6 separate regions of the Homo sapiens genome follow, and all the other regions are linked to region 2. The links are contacts of gene promoters, found by promoter capture Hi-C in human tissues and cell types (Jung and others, 2019). All regions are on one chromosome and are shown on one strand. The core of a region is centred on a gene start or on the middle of the fragment in contact, and the rest is flanking DNA. Distances in the headings are between cores, read along the strand shown.

The links. Contacts are between HindIII fragments. The study calls those that stand out against the background at their distance.
Region 1: a fragment that was not itself captured here is called in contact with the fragment with the promoter of NXNL2 in region 2 in 1 of the 25 tissues and cell types used here (lymphoblastoid cells).
Region 3: a contact is called between a fragment that was not itself captured here and the fragment with the promoter of NXNL2 in region 2, in 2 of the 25 tissues and cell types used here (bladder and spleen).
Region 4: a contact is called between a fragment that was not itself captured here and the fragment with the promoter of NXNL2 in region 2, in 1 of the 25 tissues and cell types used here (lymphoblastoid cells).
Region 5: a fragment that was not itself captured here is called in contact with the fragment with the promoter of NXNL2 in region 2 in 3 of the 25 tissues and cell types used here (dorsolateral prefrontal cortex, mesenchymal stem cells and stomach).
Region 6: a contact is called between a fragment that was not itself captured here and the fragment with the promoter of NXNL2 in region 2, in 1 of the 25 tissues and cell types used here (dorsolateral prefrontal cortex).

The regions. Positions count from the first base shown.
Region 1 is chr9:87,622,025-87,624,724 of GRCh38, reverse strand. The region is part of intron 3 of DAPK1 (death associated protein kinase 1); the gene reads right to left. Among named protein-coding and RNA genes, the nearest start is that of DAPK1-IT1, 70 kb to the right of the region's middle. The HindIII fragment of the contact is 4,767 bases long and covers 1-2,700 here.
Region 2 is chr9:88,533,658-88,536,624 of GRCh38, reverse strand. NXNL2 (nucleoredoxin like 2) reads right to left here and starts at 1,447. Exons shown (of 2, transcript NM_001161625.2): 1 at 889-1,447. The coding sequence starts at 1,190. It overlaps LOC105376134 (a long non-coding RNA gene), which reads left to right and starts at 2,085. Exons shown (of 2, transcript XR_007061653.1): 1 at 2,085-2,611. RefSeq lists enhancers at 1-826, 827-1,661. The HindIII fragment of the contact is 10,556 bases long and covers 1-2,967 here.
Region 3 is chr9:87,998,849-88,001,668 of GRCh38, reverse strand. No RefSeq gene overlaps it. Among named protein-coding and RNA genes, the nearest start is that of CDK20, 26 kb to the right of the region's middle. The HindIII fragment of the contact is 6,418 bases long and covers 1-2,820 here.
Region 4 is chr9:89,183,395-89,186,386 of GRCh38, reverse strand. No RefSeq gene overlaps it. Among named protein-coding and RNA genes, the nearest start is that of SHC3, 6.1 kb to the right of the region's middle. The HindIII fragment of the contact is 4,623 bases long and covers 1-2,992 here.
Region 5 is chr9:87,982,565-87,985,346 of GRCh38, reverse strand. The region is part of intron 1 of LOC105376131 (a long non-coding RNA gene); the gene reads right to left. Among named protein-coding and RNA genes, the nearest start is that of CDK20, 9.4 kb to the right of the region's middle. The HindIII fragment of the contact is 6,657 bases long and covers 1-2,782 here.
Region 6 is chr9:87,700,250-87,702,949 of GRCh38, reverse strand. All of the region lies in intron 24 of DAPK1 (death associated protein kinase 1), which reads right to left. Among named protein-coding and RNA genes, the nearest start is that of CTSL, 25 kb to the left of the region's middle. RefSeq lists enhancers at 1-412, 2,222-2,700. The HindIII fragment of the contact is 4,842 bases long and covers 1-2,700 here.

The DNA of each region.
Region 1 (2,700 bases), core at 109-2,608, 910 kb after region 2:
CACAGAAAGCTGACTCGAGGTCAGTCGGGTGCTCTGGCCAACTCAGGAGTGTCACAGGATCTGGAAGAAATCAGGGGATAAGGGTCCTGTCCACTTGCTGGCTGAGTAATCCAGGGGAAGACACTTAACCTTTCTGCACCTCTGGTAGAATAAAGATGGCTGCAAACCCTTTGGCACTACCCATTGAGAGCTGTGGTCTCTTTTGCTGCATCGCCTTGAATCTGAGCAAGTTCTGTGCCTGCTCGACCAATAGAATCTGAAAGAAGTGATGCTGTGCCAGTTTCCAGATCCAGGTTTTAAGAGACTGGCAACTTCCATGTCCTGTTTTGGAGGACCTGACCTTAGGTCTCAGCTGCCATGCTGTGGGAGAGCCCAACTAGCACAGTGGAGGAGCACAGGTGGAGTGGAACCAACAGCCCTGACTGAACTCACAGCTGACAGCCAGCACTACCTTGTCAGTCATGTGGAGGACATCTTGGAAGGGGGTCCCCTCTGAGTGATCTGCAGCATGTCAGGGGCCATCTAAGTAGGGAATCCTCTAGCCCCAGGCATCTGCTCCAGCTGTGGCTGCAAGGAGTAGGGAAAAGGTGTCCCTGCTGAGCCTTGTCCTAATTTCAGATTTGTGATCAAAACAAATGACTGTTGCCACTTCACATCAAGAAGCTTTGGAGTGCTTTCTTTTGTAGCAATAGAATCTCAGAACCCTGCCTCCTTGAGCTTTTGTGAGGATTAAATGACACGATGTATATAATACACCCGGCATATAAAAAGTGCTCAGTGAATGGCAATTATCAGTATTCAGAAAAAATAAAGCTGCTTGAGTTCCCCTCCCAGTCCAGGAACAAAGTGTTACCTCCTATCTGAGGGGTTTTGCTCCTCAGGCCCAGCTTTCTACAGAGGTGGATGTTTTTTCACCGTCTCTACATTAAATGAGCTCAAATGAAAGGCACTTATGAGCAAGGGCATGGCACACAGTCCTTGCACAGGAAATGTTAGCTCGATCCCCGGCACAATCCCTTCCTCTCAGGAACCCAGAACCTTTCATAAAAACTATCTTGTCTTACACCTCCACTCCCAACCCACCCTCTAGCCCATAGCGTCACCACTGCACCCGGTCCCCAATGTCTCCTAAAATTAACAGGCAATTTTATTCCAGTTCCTTTGTGTCCTGCTTGATGATGGGGACGGACTGTCGCTACCAGCACAAAAACCTTATGTTTCAGGGATGTATGCCTCGTGCATGAGGGACCAAACCTGTTAGCTCTGCCAACTGTGCCAAGAAAAGAAAGATCCACATTTGGAAATACTTTGGGATCCCCAAAAGGTCTCTAGCCTCAAAAATGTGGTCTTCCATAGGCATGAAAGACTAATCTGTGAAGCTGCATTAAGGTCCAGCCTGTGTGGAAAAGGAAGATTTTTAATGTAATCACTTTCATTCATAAGTGAAAAAAGCAAAACCATGACTTTCTTTTAGCATCCAAGAAGGAAACAGAATGCTGGATTGGTGAAAAGAAAATGCACCATGATTTATTAATACCAGCAGGCCCAGGAGGATGTGGGGCCAGACCACTTTACTCAGCTGTTAAGAAGGTGGAAGTCATTACCAGCACAGCATAATAAACAATTGTGCTTTCAAGTCCTAGTGGGCCCCTTATGTGATTACCCAACCCACTGACTCAAATGATGGCATGCTCAAATTCAGGGCCAAATGATTGAGTGGCAGTTTGCTGAGGCGCGGATTTTCAAACAGGAGGCTGCAGTTCTCAGCTTGACATGGAATTTTTAAAAAGTCCTTATTATTTATTTTTTTTTTAGAGATGGAGTCTCACTCTGCCGCCCAGGCTGGGGTGCAGTGGTGCAATCTCGGGTCACTGCAACCGCCACCTCCCGGGTTCTAGCAATTCTCTTGCCTCAACCTCCCGAGTAGCTGGGATTACAGGTGCGCCCCACCACACCCGGCTGATTTTTTGTATTTTAGTGGAGACAGGGTTTCACCGTGTTGCCCAGGCTGGTCTTGAACTCCTGAGCTCAGGCAATCCACCTGCCTCGGCCTCCCAAAGTGCTAGGATTACAGGCGTGAGCTACAGCACCCAGCCTATTTTTTTCTTAAATTGAGGAAGCATTATGTGGAATATAAGGAGGCATTTATAAAACAAGCCAACAAACCAAAAGCAATCTTTTTTTTTCCTCTCTTCCCCTTTCAGGGAAGAGAATCTACCTTCCCTCTACCCACTGAATACATCAAAATGACTGGAGTTCTTGAAAATGTGCTCTTGGTTCAGAGACTTGGTTTGTAAGAGACAACCTTCAGGAGAAGACAACCTTTAGTGCTGTTTTGTGAGGTACCGGAGCCTGCTGCTCAGGCAGCAGGGTGACACTCACACCCTGCAGGGTGTCTGGTGTAGGAGGTTGTCACACCTACGAAGGATTCACAGAAACCACAGCCTCCTACCCCAACACTGGGCATTGGCTCAGTTTCTGATTCTCTGCTTGCATTTTTGTTTCCACAGGGGATAGGGAGCGAGGGCGCATGGGAAAGAGAAATGGATGGGGGAGGTACCATAAAAATACTCCAAAGAAATGAAATCAGAATTTGTTAAAGTTCCCAGAGACCTTTTAGAAATGAAAATGGTAGAGGCCATCAACTCAGAGAAATAAAAAAAAAAAAAAGTGCAAGGCAGCCAGCATGAAAGCCATTCT
Region 2 (2,967 bases), core at 198-2,697:
CAACTTAATGATAATCTCCAGAAATGTGAGGCTGTAAAGCAAAACCCAGAAATTCACATTGGTACCTAGAAGGGGGTGGCCAGGACAACATACTTGACGAGGCCTGCTTTAAACCTAAGTCTGGACTCTTACACCATAGGAGACCACAGGAGACCCACCCCAAAAGCAGAACAATCAATCCCTGTAATCCCCTCTCTGCCAATCCCTACCCCCTCCTTTGCAACAGTTAGAGTAATAAAGTTTATAGTAATGAGTTTTATGCTTCTCTAGTGATGAAATTCCATCAGTGTCGGTAAAAATGAAACCGCAAAGGTGGCCAGCACCTGGGTTCCTGCCAGCCTTGAAGCCCCCGTCCCTCCCTCCCAGCAAACCAACCACGGCCTGCACTGTGGGTGCCTGTCACAGAGCTGATGTCCTCGCGGGTCATCCCTCATCCCCGCATCCAGACACCGGGTCATGTCCCTGTGCTTCCTGCCCACTAACTGGGAGGATGACGCAGCGGCGCCGGGAGTCCAGGGCTGATTGGGCCGGCGGTTCCCGGAGCCGAGCCCGCGAACTCACAGCATCACCACCACTGGGAGCTCCTTCGCAATGCAGATTCCCGGAGCTCCAGACCCCAGGCAGAAACGCGCCCGCGTCCATGCTCCACGAGCCCCCTTGGGGTGCCGATGCCCTGGGTTTTCGAATCTGGTCTGCACCCTCCCTGGTCTCCAAGAGAGGTTGAAACTGAGACTGAGTGTGATTTACCGGAGTCCGGACGTGAACCGAGAGACGGGGAGGTGTTGGGGGGGGGCGTCATAAAGAGCTCCCCAGTGCAGAGGGGGAGGCCTGGGGGAACATGGGGGAGACGTGCCGGGCGGCCCCCGCCCCCCCAGGACCCCCACTCACTGCCGGTAGGGGTCGTGGAAGGGCAGCGCCAGCCAGGCGCCATGCAGCTCGCGCATGAAGTCCAGCATCTCCTGGGAGCTGCCGTCGGCTGACACGAAGACCACTTCGAAGGGCGCGGGCCGCCGCGCCTCGGCCACCAGCGCCGTATAGAAGTCGCAGAGCAGCGGCGTGAAGTCGCGGCTCGGCGCGCACCGGGCCGCCGCGAAGTACAGTGCCACCACCTTGTTCTGCAGCGCCGCCTCGGCCTCCACCGTCGCGCCCTTACAGGTCACCAGGTGCCGCTCGCCCAGAATGTCAACCATGGCGCAGACACGCAGCCACCTGAGACCCGAGGACACCTGCAGGAGGATGATCACCTGCGGGGAGGCGGCGGCGAGCGCCGCGGTGCCCCGCCTCTGTCCGCACCACCGGGCGCTGGACCTCTCAAGACCTGCCCCAGATGCGCCCACACCTTGGCCAGGCCTCGCCTGTGGCTGGAGCAATTGTGTTCGCGCCGACAATGAGACACTCAGACACCAGAGACCCCAGATACCTGGGCGACAGCGCGGCACCCGCCTCTGGGAGCGGGGCCAGCCAGGCAACCTCAAGCCCTCAGGTCTCTGCACCCTCCCCCAACTGCGCCCCGCCCACACTCCTGCGCCCTCCCACCACTGCGCCCCGCCCACATTCCCCGCAAGCTCCCCAACTGCGCCCCGCCCACATTCCGCACTCTCCACCCACTGCGCCCCGCCCACATCCCGCACTCTCCACCCACTGCGCCCCGCCCACATCCCCGCCCCCGCCCCCACTGCGCCTCGCCCGCATCCCCACACTGTCCCCCACTGCGCTGGGCCCACATCCCTACACTCTCCACCCACTGCGCCCCGCCCACATCTCCGCACCCTCCCCCACCGCACCCCGCCCACATCCCCGCACTCTCCTCCAACTGCGCCTCGCCCACATTCCACAGTTTCCCCTCACTGCGCCCCGCCCACATCCCCGCACTCTTCTCCAACTGCGCCTCGCCCACATTCCACAGTTTCCCCTCACTGCGCCCCGCGCACACTCCCGCTCCCTCCCCCACTGCGCCCCGCCCACACTCCCGCGCCCTCCCCCTCACTGCGGCCCGCCGACATCCCGCGCCCCCGCCCCCATCCCGACTGCGCCCCGCCCACCTCCCGCGCCCTCTCCCACTGGTTGTCCAGCCCACATCCTGCACTCCCTCCACTGCGCCCCGCTCACACTCCCGCACCCTCCCCACACTGCGCCCTGCCCACACTCCTGCACTCTCTCCCCACTACGCCCCCTACCACATCCCGCGCCCCCGCCCCCATCCCCACTGCGCCCCGCCCACACTCCCGCGCCCTCGCGCCCCTGGGCTCTCCCGTCGTGGGCACTCTCCCCAGCGCTTCTACACTTTCTCCCGACGCAGCGCCCTGCCCTCCGTCCCGCCCCACCTATTGCCTCCTGCGCTTCCCCCACACCGTGCTCTTCCTCCTCCTTCACTTCCTCCCACTCCTCGCGCTCCCCTTCAGCGCCCCACGCAGCCCCTCCCCCAAAACCCCGCGTCGCTCTCCTTCCCTCCTGGCCTCTCTTCCAGTCTCGCGCTCCCTGCCGGGCCCCGCCGCAGGTGTCCCGCAGCCGTCTCCCCAGGGCATTTGAATCTTGCCTTGGAGCTCTTGCCGCGCGGCCCAGCACCCTGGAAGAGGCATCAGGGAGGATGGGACGACGAGGAAGGGGAAGGGTAATTGGGCTTGGAGCGGGCTTGGGCGGGGTGGTAGGGAACCTGAGCTCCGTTGGTTCAGGGTGTTTGCCCCTGACATCCTGTGGCCTGGCTGGGAGGGTTCGTGAAGTTCAGGAAGAAATTGGGAGCAGTCCTTACAGAATGTTTTATTTGAAGAACCAAGAGTATTAATTTTTTGGCGAGCACTGTTGTAGGCCCTGGGAATTCAGCAGTGAGAAAAATAATTTCAACTCCCTGCCAGACCCGGGCTAGAAGGAGGCAAGCGAGCGAGGCACTCGCATAGGGGCAAAATTTAAGGGCGCGACAAAAAAACTCAGTAGTCAAGGTAAATAATGTTTTAATACAATATCTTAAAA
Region 3 (2,820 bases), core at 236-2,735, 530 kb after region 2:
GCTTGAATTTCTCCTCAGAAAATGGAATTTTCTTTTCTATTGCATTGTTAGGCTGCAAATTTTCCAAACTTTTATGCTCTGTTTCCCTTTTGAAACTGAATGTCTTTAATAGCACCCAAGTCACCTCTTGAATGCTTTGCTGCTTAGAAATTTCTTCTGCTAGATACTCTAAATCATCTCTCTCGAGTTCAAAGTTCCACAAATCTCTAGGGCAGGGGCAAAATGCCAGCAGTCTCTTTGCTAAAACATAAGAAGAATCACCTATGCTCCAGTTTCCAACAAGTTCCTCATCTCCATCTGAGATCACCTCAGCCTAGACCTTATTGTTCGTATCACTAGCAGCATTTTTGTCAAAGCCCTTTAACAAGTCTCTAGGGAGTTCTGAACTTTCCCACATTTTCCTATCTTCTTCTGAGCCCTCCAAACTGTTCCAACCTCTCCTGTTACCCAGTTCCAAAGTCACTTCCACATTTTTGGATCTTTTCAGTAATGCCCCACTCCCGGTACCAATTTACTGTATTAGTCCATTTTCACACTGCTGGTAAAGACATACCTGAGACTGGGCAATTCACAAAAGAAAGAGGTTTATTGGACTTACAGTTCCATGTGGCTGGGGAGGCCTCATAATCATGGTGGAAGGTGAAAGGCACATCTCACATGACAGCAGACAAGAGAGCTTGTGCAGGGAGACTCTCGTTTTTAAAACCATCAGATCTCATGAAACTTATTCACTATCATGAGAATAGCATGGGAAAGACCCACTCCCATGATTCAATTACCTCCCACCAGGTCCCTTTCACAACACATGGGAATTGTGGGAGTTAAAATTCAAGATGAGATTTGGGTGGGGGACACAACCAAACCATATCAACAATCATTTATGAAAAATTAAATCATATAAACTTGTAATTAAATACATTATATTAAACACACAGGTATTGAATGCTCAAACTCATCACTTTCTATTTATTTGACTAATTATTAGAAGTCACCCATATCATTGCGCAAGTGAAGTTCTCTCATGTTGGCAACAAAACTATTAAATACTCTTCTGGATTTTACAAGAAATAGCAGTTCAAAGTGAAGTCATAGGTGCATAAAATTTGTGATAGAGTATTGTATATTTTACTATTAGTAGTAAATTGTGTGCTATATATTCTTTATATCAGTAAAATTTATAATAAACTCATAAAATATATATAATAACTCCCTATAAGGCCTGTTGATAGACATTTAGTCATACACCACTGAATGAAGCTGTTTTGTAGCACATGGAACTACAAGGAGATTTGGGATGAAAAGCTCTAGAAGATTTAGGGTAAAATACATAATCCAGCATTTATTATGCAGCACTTTAGATCCTTAAATACATTATTATTTAACTTCTCCAGGCTTGTAAAGACTTAATAATAACAAACATTTATTGAGGTCTTAAGGACTTACTATGGACAGGCCAGTAACATGATGATCTCATTAAATCATTGCAGTAACCCTCTGAGAGGAATATTATTATTATTATCCCCAATTGAAGAGGGGGAACGCAGTAGTTGTCATGGTACCCCAGATGGTGAAGAGCAGTTTGAGAAACCTACTGCAGATGGCTGTGCTCTGAGCCCTGTCTGAGCCTATACATGCTCAGGTAGAGACAGAAGCTCCCTGAGATCGAAGCTTGGTTCATGGACCTGGGCCCAGGAGATGGCACATTATGGACACTCAGCAGAGGTTTACTGATTTATTACTTAATGGATCAAGTAACAGTGGATCAAGTCATGATTTAAGCATCATGGGAAGCCACTGATCCAGTTTTAGTCTTGAGAAAATAGTGAATTTGGGGGAGATGAGAAGCTGTAGAGGGGAGCAGAAAGATTAACTAGAGCTAGAGTTTAAAACACTTGCTGCAAATATATTAATATTTAACCCTCACAAAGGTCCTTTATGAGAGCTGTTGTCTCCTTCCTTCAGCCAAGGAACTGCAGGCACTTGCGTAGAAAATGGGACTCATGTCTTCATGAAGAAGAGCTTATAGAGGGTCGTTCTTGACCTGTAGTGTGTATCTGAGTCATCAAGGGACCTTGTTAAAAATGCAGAGTCTGGTTCAGTAGGTCTGGGGTGCTGCTCAAGCATTTGCACTTGTGACGAGCACCTACAGGAGGCTGAAGCTGCTGGTCTGCCAGTAATACTTGGAGTAACTAGTCAAGAGGGTTTGTGTTGTTTGTTTGTCATTGAGAAAACTTTCAATGAAAGTTTCAGTTGAGAACTTTCAAGCTCATTGGCTTGGATGGGATAAGGCAAAATAACGTATTCTGTGTATTCTGAATACACAGAATAACCTGGGGTCCTGCATAGCTCCCTTTTGATAAATGAGAGCTCCCTTTTCTAGACAGATAACTCACTGTTAACTTATGGTCAGAGTATCTCACACAAGATTCCATGGAATCCTCCCAGCAGCTCTGAGAGATGGATATTGTCTGTGGATAAAGATGCTAAAGCATAAAGGGAATTCCACATTCTAAAATAAATAAGAGGAGGAGAGAGAAAATTAATATAGAGTAAGTGAATATAAAGTCCAGAAATGAGGGATCTATTGACATTACTCCTGAAGGACAAAAAGTTGTCGAGATGAGTTTTAGGCTCCTGAACCGACCATGTCACTAGGAACCAATTGTTACGGGAGCCAGAAGAGAAACTGATGCGCTAATGAATTTTTGATTGCATGAAGCTGGAGGCTCAGTGAGGGAGAACAGAGGTCTAAAAGAAAGATAGTTCTATGCTAGTTCCACTACCATTACTTTTGTCTGGAAATTTAAAGTTTGTATCAGT
Region 4 (2,992 bases), core at 410-2,909, 650 kb before region 2:
TGGGGAGTTGAAGCTGCTTGGAGGGAGGGATGATAATTTGAAACTTACGTCATTGGAACCTTAGAAATACAGAATATGGAGGGCGATGAGGGCTGGTGAGCCAGCGCTCTGACCCATCCTTGGAGCTGGCTGAGGCTCAAGGCCCTTCTCTGAGGACAGGGAGCCTGGCCCCGGCCTCCAGTTGTGAGGAACTCTCCTTGGTGCTGAAGCATTGGGTTCCACTGTTGGGAGCCCTGTTCCAGATTATTCTTAACCACAGGTATTCCTACATCCAGTCCTGCTCTCCATTCCCACAACAGGGAATGGGCATGTGGTCCCCTGAGGGTCCCTGCAAAGAGTACGTCTGCCCCTCTGCCTGGGTACCCCTCCCTCTACTGTCAATATGAGGTGTGGCTCTTCTGTCTTCTAAACAACTTGTGCCCTCATTTGCTCTTCCCTGAGTGCCCAGCCATCTCACCCTTCCCACATTGTCCTGGAGAAGCTCTCTTCTGTTTCAGCCTCCTCCCAGGATGACTCCAAACTCTGGCTTCAACAAAACTGGAACTCCCCACCCCCCAACACTGTGGTGAGGCTGATCCTTCTCCCCACCTACACCTCAAGAGGCACCATTAGGGACCTGCTCCCATGCACCTCTCCATGATGTGCACCCCAAGGCCCCAGGTTGCAATCTTCCCAGGGCCTTGAGAGCACTGTGCCTGCGTTTGATCCTCCTTCAGTGGCCATCCTATCCTTCTCTACCCCACATCCATTCCTGACTCCTGCTGGCTGTGTCCTCCAGGCCCTCCCTCCCGTGCCTTCATCCTAGAATGGACCCTGTAGCTAATGATTCACTGTCTTCCATTTCATAAACAGGCAGATGGATGCCCATATCTGGGCTCTCTATGACTGGTTCATGGTGCCATGCAGCAATCCCTTGCTTATCCTGACACATTGGCAGCACCTTTCGCCCCCCTCAGTGGCCATTCTGTACCTTCAACTGCAACTCAAATGCCTTACAGAAATGAAATCATCTCACTTTTTAAGTACATCCCTGCCTTTTATTCATGGTGAAAGTCAGGTGTAACGTCCAAATCAGACATAAAAGCTTTGAGCTTCCTACCATCGCCACAGACAAATTGACGTGCAGACACACTCAGCATGCACTTCCCCTCAGCCTTCCAGTCTGCTCTGTGCCTGGGGGCTGCCTCTCCCCATGGTCCCATCACCAAGCTCCCTGGACCTCTGGCTTCCCATGGATGTGGCCAATGGGAGGCACCAACAGGAGATAAGAGTAGGGAAAGAGACAGTCTGGGTATTTCCCCTCTCTGGCCTCCTCTCTGTCAGTAACTTTTGCCCTCTGAAACTTCAGCTGCCTCTGACAACCTCCACTCCAAAGTTCCAGCTGGGATTCTCCTGGCTCCAGTGACTCAATTCCCTTTCTGTTGCTTTGGTCCTGGAGCTGGAGATGGCCTCTGAGTCTTGTGACTCAGAGATGATATATCCCTGGCATATCACCATCCTTTGGGGCTATGTTAACCTCATCTTTATGTCTGTTATATTAAAGTCTCTGCCTTTGAACCACTTCAGAGGGGAGGGACTCCTGTTTCCTACTTTGGACCCTGAATGGTCTGCTCATCAAGTCCTCCTTCCCACCAGAGGATGAGATATCCCACCATCCCCACAGGGCAAGAGCTACCCAGGCTCTTGACCTGTCTCCTTCCTGCATTGATTTCTCCCACTCTGCTCTGCTCCCTGCCCCTAAACACACTCCTAACTCTTCCATCCCCTGCTTTGTACTCTTCTGCTCTACTGCTGGCTACTACCCTATGTCCCACCTTTCATTTCATTCCATCTTTTGGAAAGTATGATCTTTTCATTCATTTCTGGTCTCATTCAGCTGGCACCATCCTGCTACCTAAGCAGAAGCCTCTCCATCCCCATTGTTAAGATGTCGGGTGATGGCTGATCACCACCTGCCAAGGATGGGTCTCAGCAGGTACCTTACACAAGCTGTCTGAATAGGGGTGATGCTGGGTCATGAACGTGGCTTTGGAGTAAGACTATTCTGTCAGTTCCTCACTGTATTAGTCCATTCTCACACTGCCATAAAGAAATGCCTGAAACTGGGTAATTTATAAAGAAAAAAGGTTTAATTGGCTGACAGTTCTGCAGGCTGTATGGGAAGCATGGCTGGCGAGGCCTCAGAAAACTTACAATTATGGCGGAAGGTGAAGGGGAAGCAGGCACATCTACATGGTAGGGGCAGGATGAAGAGAGAGCAAAGGGGGAGGTGCTGCATACTTTTAAACAAGCAAATCTTGTGAGAATCCTATTATGAGACAGCACTGGGGGACAGCTAAACCATTAGAAACTGCCCCCATGATCCAGTCACCTCCCATTAGGCCCCACCTCCAACACTGGGGATTACAATTCAACCTGAGATTTGGGCAGGGACACAAATCCAAACCATATCACTCACCCAGTGTGGCTCTGGCACATTTTGTAACTCCTCTGATTCTTGGTTTCTTTTCATTCAAAACAGGCTGTAAACCATCTATCTATATCTCTCTATAGCAGGCATGCATTGGTGCCTAGGGACACTCAGTCAAGGTGGTTATGACTGTCATCATTACATTTGTTAACTATCACTGGTTTTTCTCTTGAAACTCTCCTCCATGACATTCATCAAACCAGGTTTCCATATTTATTCTCCAAATTATGACCGTTTTTTTTTCTTAGCTCCCATCTGGGAAGTCTGGCATTTGCAAGTTTCCACTTCCAGCCCTGACTGCTCTTCGGCTCTGGCCATCTCTACATGGAAGATCCCCACCCCTCACACACATTCAAGCCCAGCCCTTGCCTTTCCCCATGACCTGCCTGTCATGGGGATGCTCCTCATCCTCATGGCTAACATTCAGCTCAACCCAATGGTCCAAGTTAGAAACGTGGGCTTTGCTTGGCATTCCTTTCTTTGGGAGAGGCTGGGCTGCAGGGTGCCATGGGCACACAGCCT
Region 5 (2,782 bases), core at 110-2,609, 550 kb after region 2:
GAGCCTGGGAAGTGGAGGCTGCAGTGAGCTATGATTATACCATTGCACTCTAGCCTGGGCAACAGAGGAGCCCCTTTCTTAAAAAAAAAAGGAAAACGGGAAAAGAAAGCCAGGCACGGTGGCTCACGCCTGTAATCTCAGCACTTTGTGGGGCCGAGGTGGGCAGATCACCTGAGGTCAGGAGTTTGAGACCAGCCTGGCCAACATGGTGAATCCTCAACTCTACTAAAAAAATACAAAAATTAGCCGGCCACGGTGGTGTGTGCCTGTAATCCCAGCTACTCAGGAGGCTGAGGCAGGAGAACTGCTTGAACCCGGGAGGCAGAGGTTGCAGTGAGCCAAGATCCTGTCACTGCACTCCAGCCTGGGTGACAGAGCAAAACTCCGTCTCAAAAAAAAAAAAATATATATATGTATATACACGTATATACACGTATATACGTGTATATACGTATATACACGTATATACGTGTATATACGTATATACACGTATATACACGTATATACGTGTATATATGTATATACACATATATACATGTGTATGTGTGTATATATATATAGATATAAAAATGATATCCAGTTCCATGTTGCTGCAAATGACATGATTTTATTCTTTTTTTATGGCTGTTGGGAAAAGGGCTTGTGGGGTGCCTGCATAAACTGGCCATAAAAATATGGGACAATAAGTTGTGGAAAGCCACAAGAGGCCTCTGAGGAGGAAAGTCTTCTAATTGCCATAACGTTCCCATGACCAGAGCGTGACCTGCTCTCTTATCTATAAACACTGTGCTCAAGGAGAAAGACACTCCTTTGAAGCATTGGAATGTGGCCAGATATGCCGGCTCCTAGTTATGCCCACTCCCGATAGCTGCTCTCCAATAAGTTAAAGAATAAATCAGTAGTTAAGTTTATGCTGCTTCAGCACAAAGAAAATTTACCTAAACCGCCATTGCTATAGATTAGGTGTATGTCACACCGCCCCCCGCTTTCACCGTTTCACCCCTGAACATCTGCTTCTTAGATCTAAGTGACTGTACTCAATAAATAGTGTGGAGACCAGAGCTTGGCACCTTCGCAGCCTCTGATTTGTTCTGGCCCCCTGGCTCCCACCTTTATGAACTCTTAACCTGTCTCTTCTCATTCCTTTGTCACCACCGGACTTTGGGTACCCTACGGGTGGTGTTGGGGTTGGTCCCCAACATATGGCTGAGTAGTATTCCTGTATATACACATACATATATGTGTGTGTGTGTGTATAAAACATTTTCTTTATTCAATCATCCTTTGATAGACACCTAGGTTGACTTAGGTTGATTCCATATCTTTTCTGCTGGAAATAGTGCTACTACATACATACAAATGCAGGTACCTTTTTGATATAATGATTTCTTTTCCTTTAGGTAGATACCCAGTAATGGGATTACTGGATTGAATGGTAGTTCTATTTTTAATTCTTTGATAAATCTCCATACTGTTTTCCATAGAGGTTGTACTAATTTACATTCCCACCAACAGTATATAAGCATTCCCTTTTCTCTGTATCCTCGCCAACATTTTTTTTTCTTTTTTCTTTCTTTTTTTTTTTTTTTACAATTTATTTATTTTGAGACAGAGTTTCGCTCTTATTGCCCAGGCTGGAGTGCAATGGCACGATCTCGACTCACTGAAACCTCCGCCTCCGAGGTTCAAGCAATTCTCCTGCCTCAGCCTCCCTAGTAGGTGGGAGTACAGGCATGTGCCACCATGCCAGGCTAATTTTGTATTTTTTTAGTAGAGACAGGGTTTCTCCGTGTTAGTCAGGCTGGTCTCAAACTCCCGACCTCAGGTAATCCACCCGCCTCGGCCTCCCAAAGTGCTGGGATTACAGGCGTGAACCACTGTGCCTGGCCTTTGACTTTTTATTAATAGGCATTCTGACTGGTGTAAGCTGATATCTCATTTTAATTTTCATTTCCCTGATGAGTAGTGATGTTGAGAATATTTTCATATGCTTGTTGGCCATTTGTATGTCTTTGTTTGTCAAATGTCTGTTCATGTTCTTTGACTGCTTTTAGTGGGGTTATTTGGTTTTTGTTGTTGTTGTTAAGATGTTTGAGTTCTTTGCATATTCTGGATATTAGTCCGTCAGATGCATAGTTTGCAAAATATTTTCTCCTATTCTGCAGGTTGTTATTCACTGCGTTATTTTTCTGCTGTGCAGAAACATTTTAGTTTAATTAAGTCTCATTTGTCTATTTTTGTTATTGCTGTATTTGCTTTTGAAGTCTTAGCCATGAATTCTTTGCCTAGACCAATATCTAGAAGAATTTTTCGTAGGCTTTCCTTATGTATATTTATTTTATACTTCGGTTAATAATGTACTATTATATTTTTTATTTTCTTGGTCAAATTGTTCTAGCTTTGGCCATTAGGAATTCTTTCAGCTGGCTCCTGTGTCTCTATAACATACCCCCATCACTTCTTTTTACAACTTCTTAGTTTTTGTCACTACTTGTTTTCAAACTATTTATATTGTTATATTTGGAATGAGTTCGTTGTAGATGGCTTATGGTTGGGTCATGTTTTCTTTAGATTCATTCTGTTTGGTGTTCACTCAGCTTCATGAATCTCCCTTTCCGTATATTGCTTTTTTATTCTGTTGTGTCCTTTGATGCACAGAAGCTTTTAATTTTGATAAAATCAAATGTGTCTATTATTATTTTAAAATTTTGATTGACATATAGTAATTGTATGTATGTATGGGGTACATAATGATGTTTTGACAGGTACAGTGTCCAATACA
Region 6 (2,700 bases), core at 20-2,519, 830 kb after region 2:
TTTCATTCAGGCGCCTTGCAGGTGATTTGATGAACGAGTGGGTTTTTTTGTTGTTGTTGACGTTTTTTTTTCTTTTTTTAGACTGGGTCTCGCTATTGCCCAGGCTGGTCTCAAACCCTTGGGCTCAAGTAATCCTCTTGTCTCAGTCTCCTGAGTAGCTCCGACTACAAGTACACACCACTGTGTCTGGCTAGTTTGTGTTTTTTGGGTTGAGTACTGGGGCAGTTGTCTTTTAGACTTGCTTTTAAGCCTCATCTATTGCTCAAATATAAAGTTTTATAAAGGCTCTTTAGTTCATGTTAAATAGATTTTGAGTCTTCTAGGAACGTTTTTGGAATTGTGGACTCAGTCACTCAATCAACTAATGTTCACCAACTCCTAATGTTTCACTCCCTCACTTTTTCCTCCCTCCCTCCTTTCTTCCCTCGCTCTCTCTCTCGTGACTGTTTCACTCAGGCAATGATCACTTTATGAACAGAGGAAAAGAGAATGAGTATCATCATCAATATTAGAGTGAGTGTTTACCAGTAAATTAGGCATTCGTGGGGACTGTTGTTGAAATATTGTTTCCAATTAGACCCATTCTTGGTATGTAGGCTGAAGTGGATTTTTAACCTTTTAACTTGGTTAATTAGATCAGCATATGTTACAGACTCACGTAATCCACATACCTCTGAATTAGAAACCACATAAGCCACAGGCTACACCGTGCCATTAATTCCGCACTCCCCTCTCAAATTCTTTTGTGTCAGCTAAATTCCACTCTGCATTCAAAAACAAAATTCTCAGGGGTGAGTGCAGTTGATGTGGTGGGCTCCACCTGCCTGAGCTCAGGAGTTTAGGGGTTGGGCGGGGGGTGTCTGAGAAGCAGCAGATCATGCCAGAGCCCAGCTCAAAAATCTCCAGGGACACTCCCTCCTGCCTCAGGAATGCAGCCTCAATCCAGACCTGGTGGGGAAGCACAGGGGCCCTCAGAGACCACTGTTAGTTCCCAGATCACCGCCCCTGGTTTCTGTGACAGATTCCTCCCAGGCCTCACCGGACTACCCCCTATCTTCTGATGATGCCACAGTGGGACCCCAACGAGGATATCTGGTGTGAAGGGCAGGGTTTTCTGGAGACAGGAAAGGGTTTCCCGAGAATTCTGGAAGCACATCTAGAACCAGAATCTGGTGCGGGAAGCACAGCATTTTCTTATTAGCAAAGCAGTTAAAAAAAAAAAAAAAAAATACACCCAGAGGCAGCTTCAAAGGTAAGAGAGGGAGACAGGCATCTGCCCGCATTTGTCCTCAGGCCTCGGCAGCAGGAAGACTCCAGAGTGAATGCCACCACTTCTCCACTGGGACGCTCGCCCTTTTCTTACCAATTCCGGAGAGCTTTTTGAACATTACGGTGTGACCATTTATCTGTCCAAAGCATTGAGAATGCTTTTTCCCAGCCTATTTCACCTTTCAACTTTGTTTACTTAATTTGTTTGCTAGAAAAAAATTTTAAAAATTTTTACATTTTCAAACAGGTATATTTTCTTTTAAAATTTCTAGGGTTTTAGATCTTGGTTTAACAGGTTCCCTCAGTCCCTAGTTATTTTGAAAATACACTCTCCACAATTTCTATTCAAGGTATTTATTGTTTCATGTTTTTACTTAAAAGCTTTAATCCATTTATTTTTGGACTTTGTAGGGTGTAGGAATCCAACTTTATTTCCTTCCAGACAAATAGCCAGTTGTGCCAGGTTCATTTATTAAATAATCTTTACCCCATTAAATTCAAATGACATATTTATTTTCCATTATATTTCTAAAGATATTATGATTTACTTCTATACCCTCTAAGCTTTTCCTCCTATTTAACTGTATTGATTATCAGGGGCTTTATAATAGGTTTAATGAATTTTTCCATGGAAATTTTAAGATAAAAATCCCAATCCCCTCAACCCATTCAGATGCTAACTGAAATTGTATTACATTTATATAACTAGGGAAAAATAAAATAGTCATATCTTGCAACCCAAGAATACAGTCTCATTCCCTTTGTTCATTTATTCTTTTCTGTCTTTCAAAAAAGTTTGTGACTGTTTTTCTACTTTTCTGAATTTTCTAAATATTCCACAATAAGTCACTTTTGAATTTTTTGGTTTTTTCCCAAAATTGGCCAGGCATGGTGGCTCACACCTGTAATCTCAGCACTTTGGGAGGCTGAGGTGGGAGGAGCACCTGAGCCTAGGAGTTCGAGACCAGCCTGGGCAACATAGTAAGACCCTGTCTCTACCAAAAAATCAAAAAAATTAGCCAGACATGGTGGTGCGTGCCTATAGTCCTAGCTACTTGGGAGGCTGAGATGGACAGATTGCTTGAGCCCTGGAGTTCAAGGTTACGGTGAGCTATGATCACACCACTGTACTCCAGCCTGGATGACAGTGTGAGATCCTGTCTCTGAAAAAATAAAATAAATAAATAAAATATTGTTAAAGAAACCAATAAATCGGTAAGAATTTCATAAAATTGAAGTGGTCCACCTTGCCCATAATAACCCTTCAGCTCCCATCATCTCCTTGTTTCTCTATTCTTCCTTTCTTTTCCCAGGGCACTAGGATAAAGACATGTCCAGGCAGACACCTCTTACTGGGTCCTACTATGAAGCAGTTCCCTGAAACCAGAGGCAAACCAGGAAGGAAGTACAAAGGGGTCCAGGCTCTTTCCA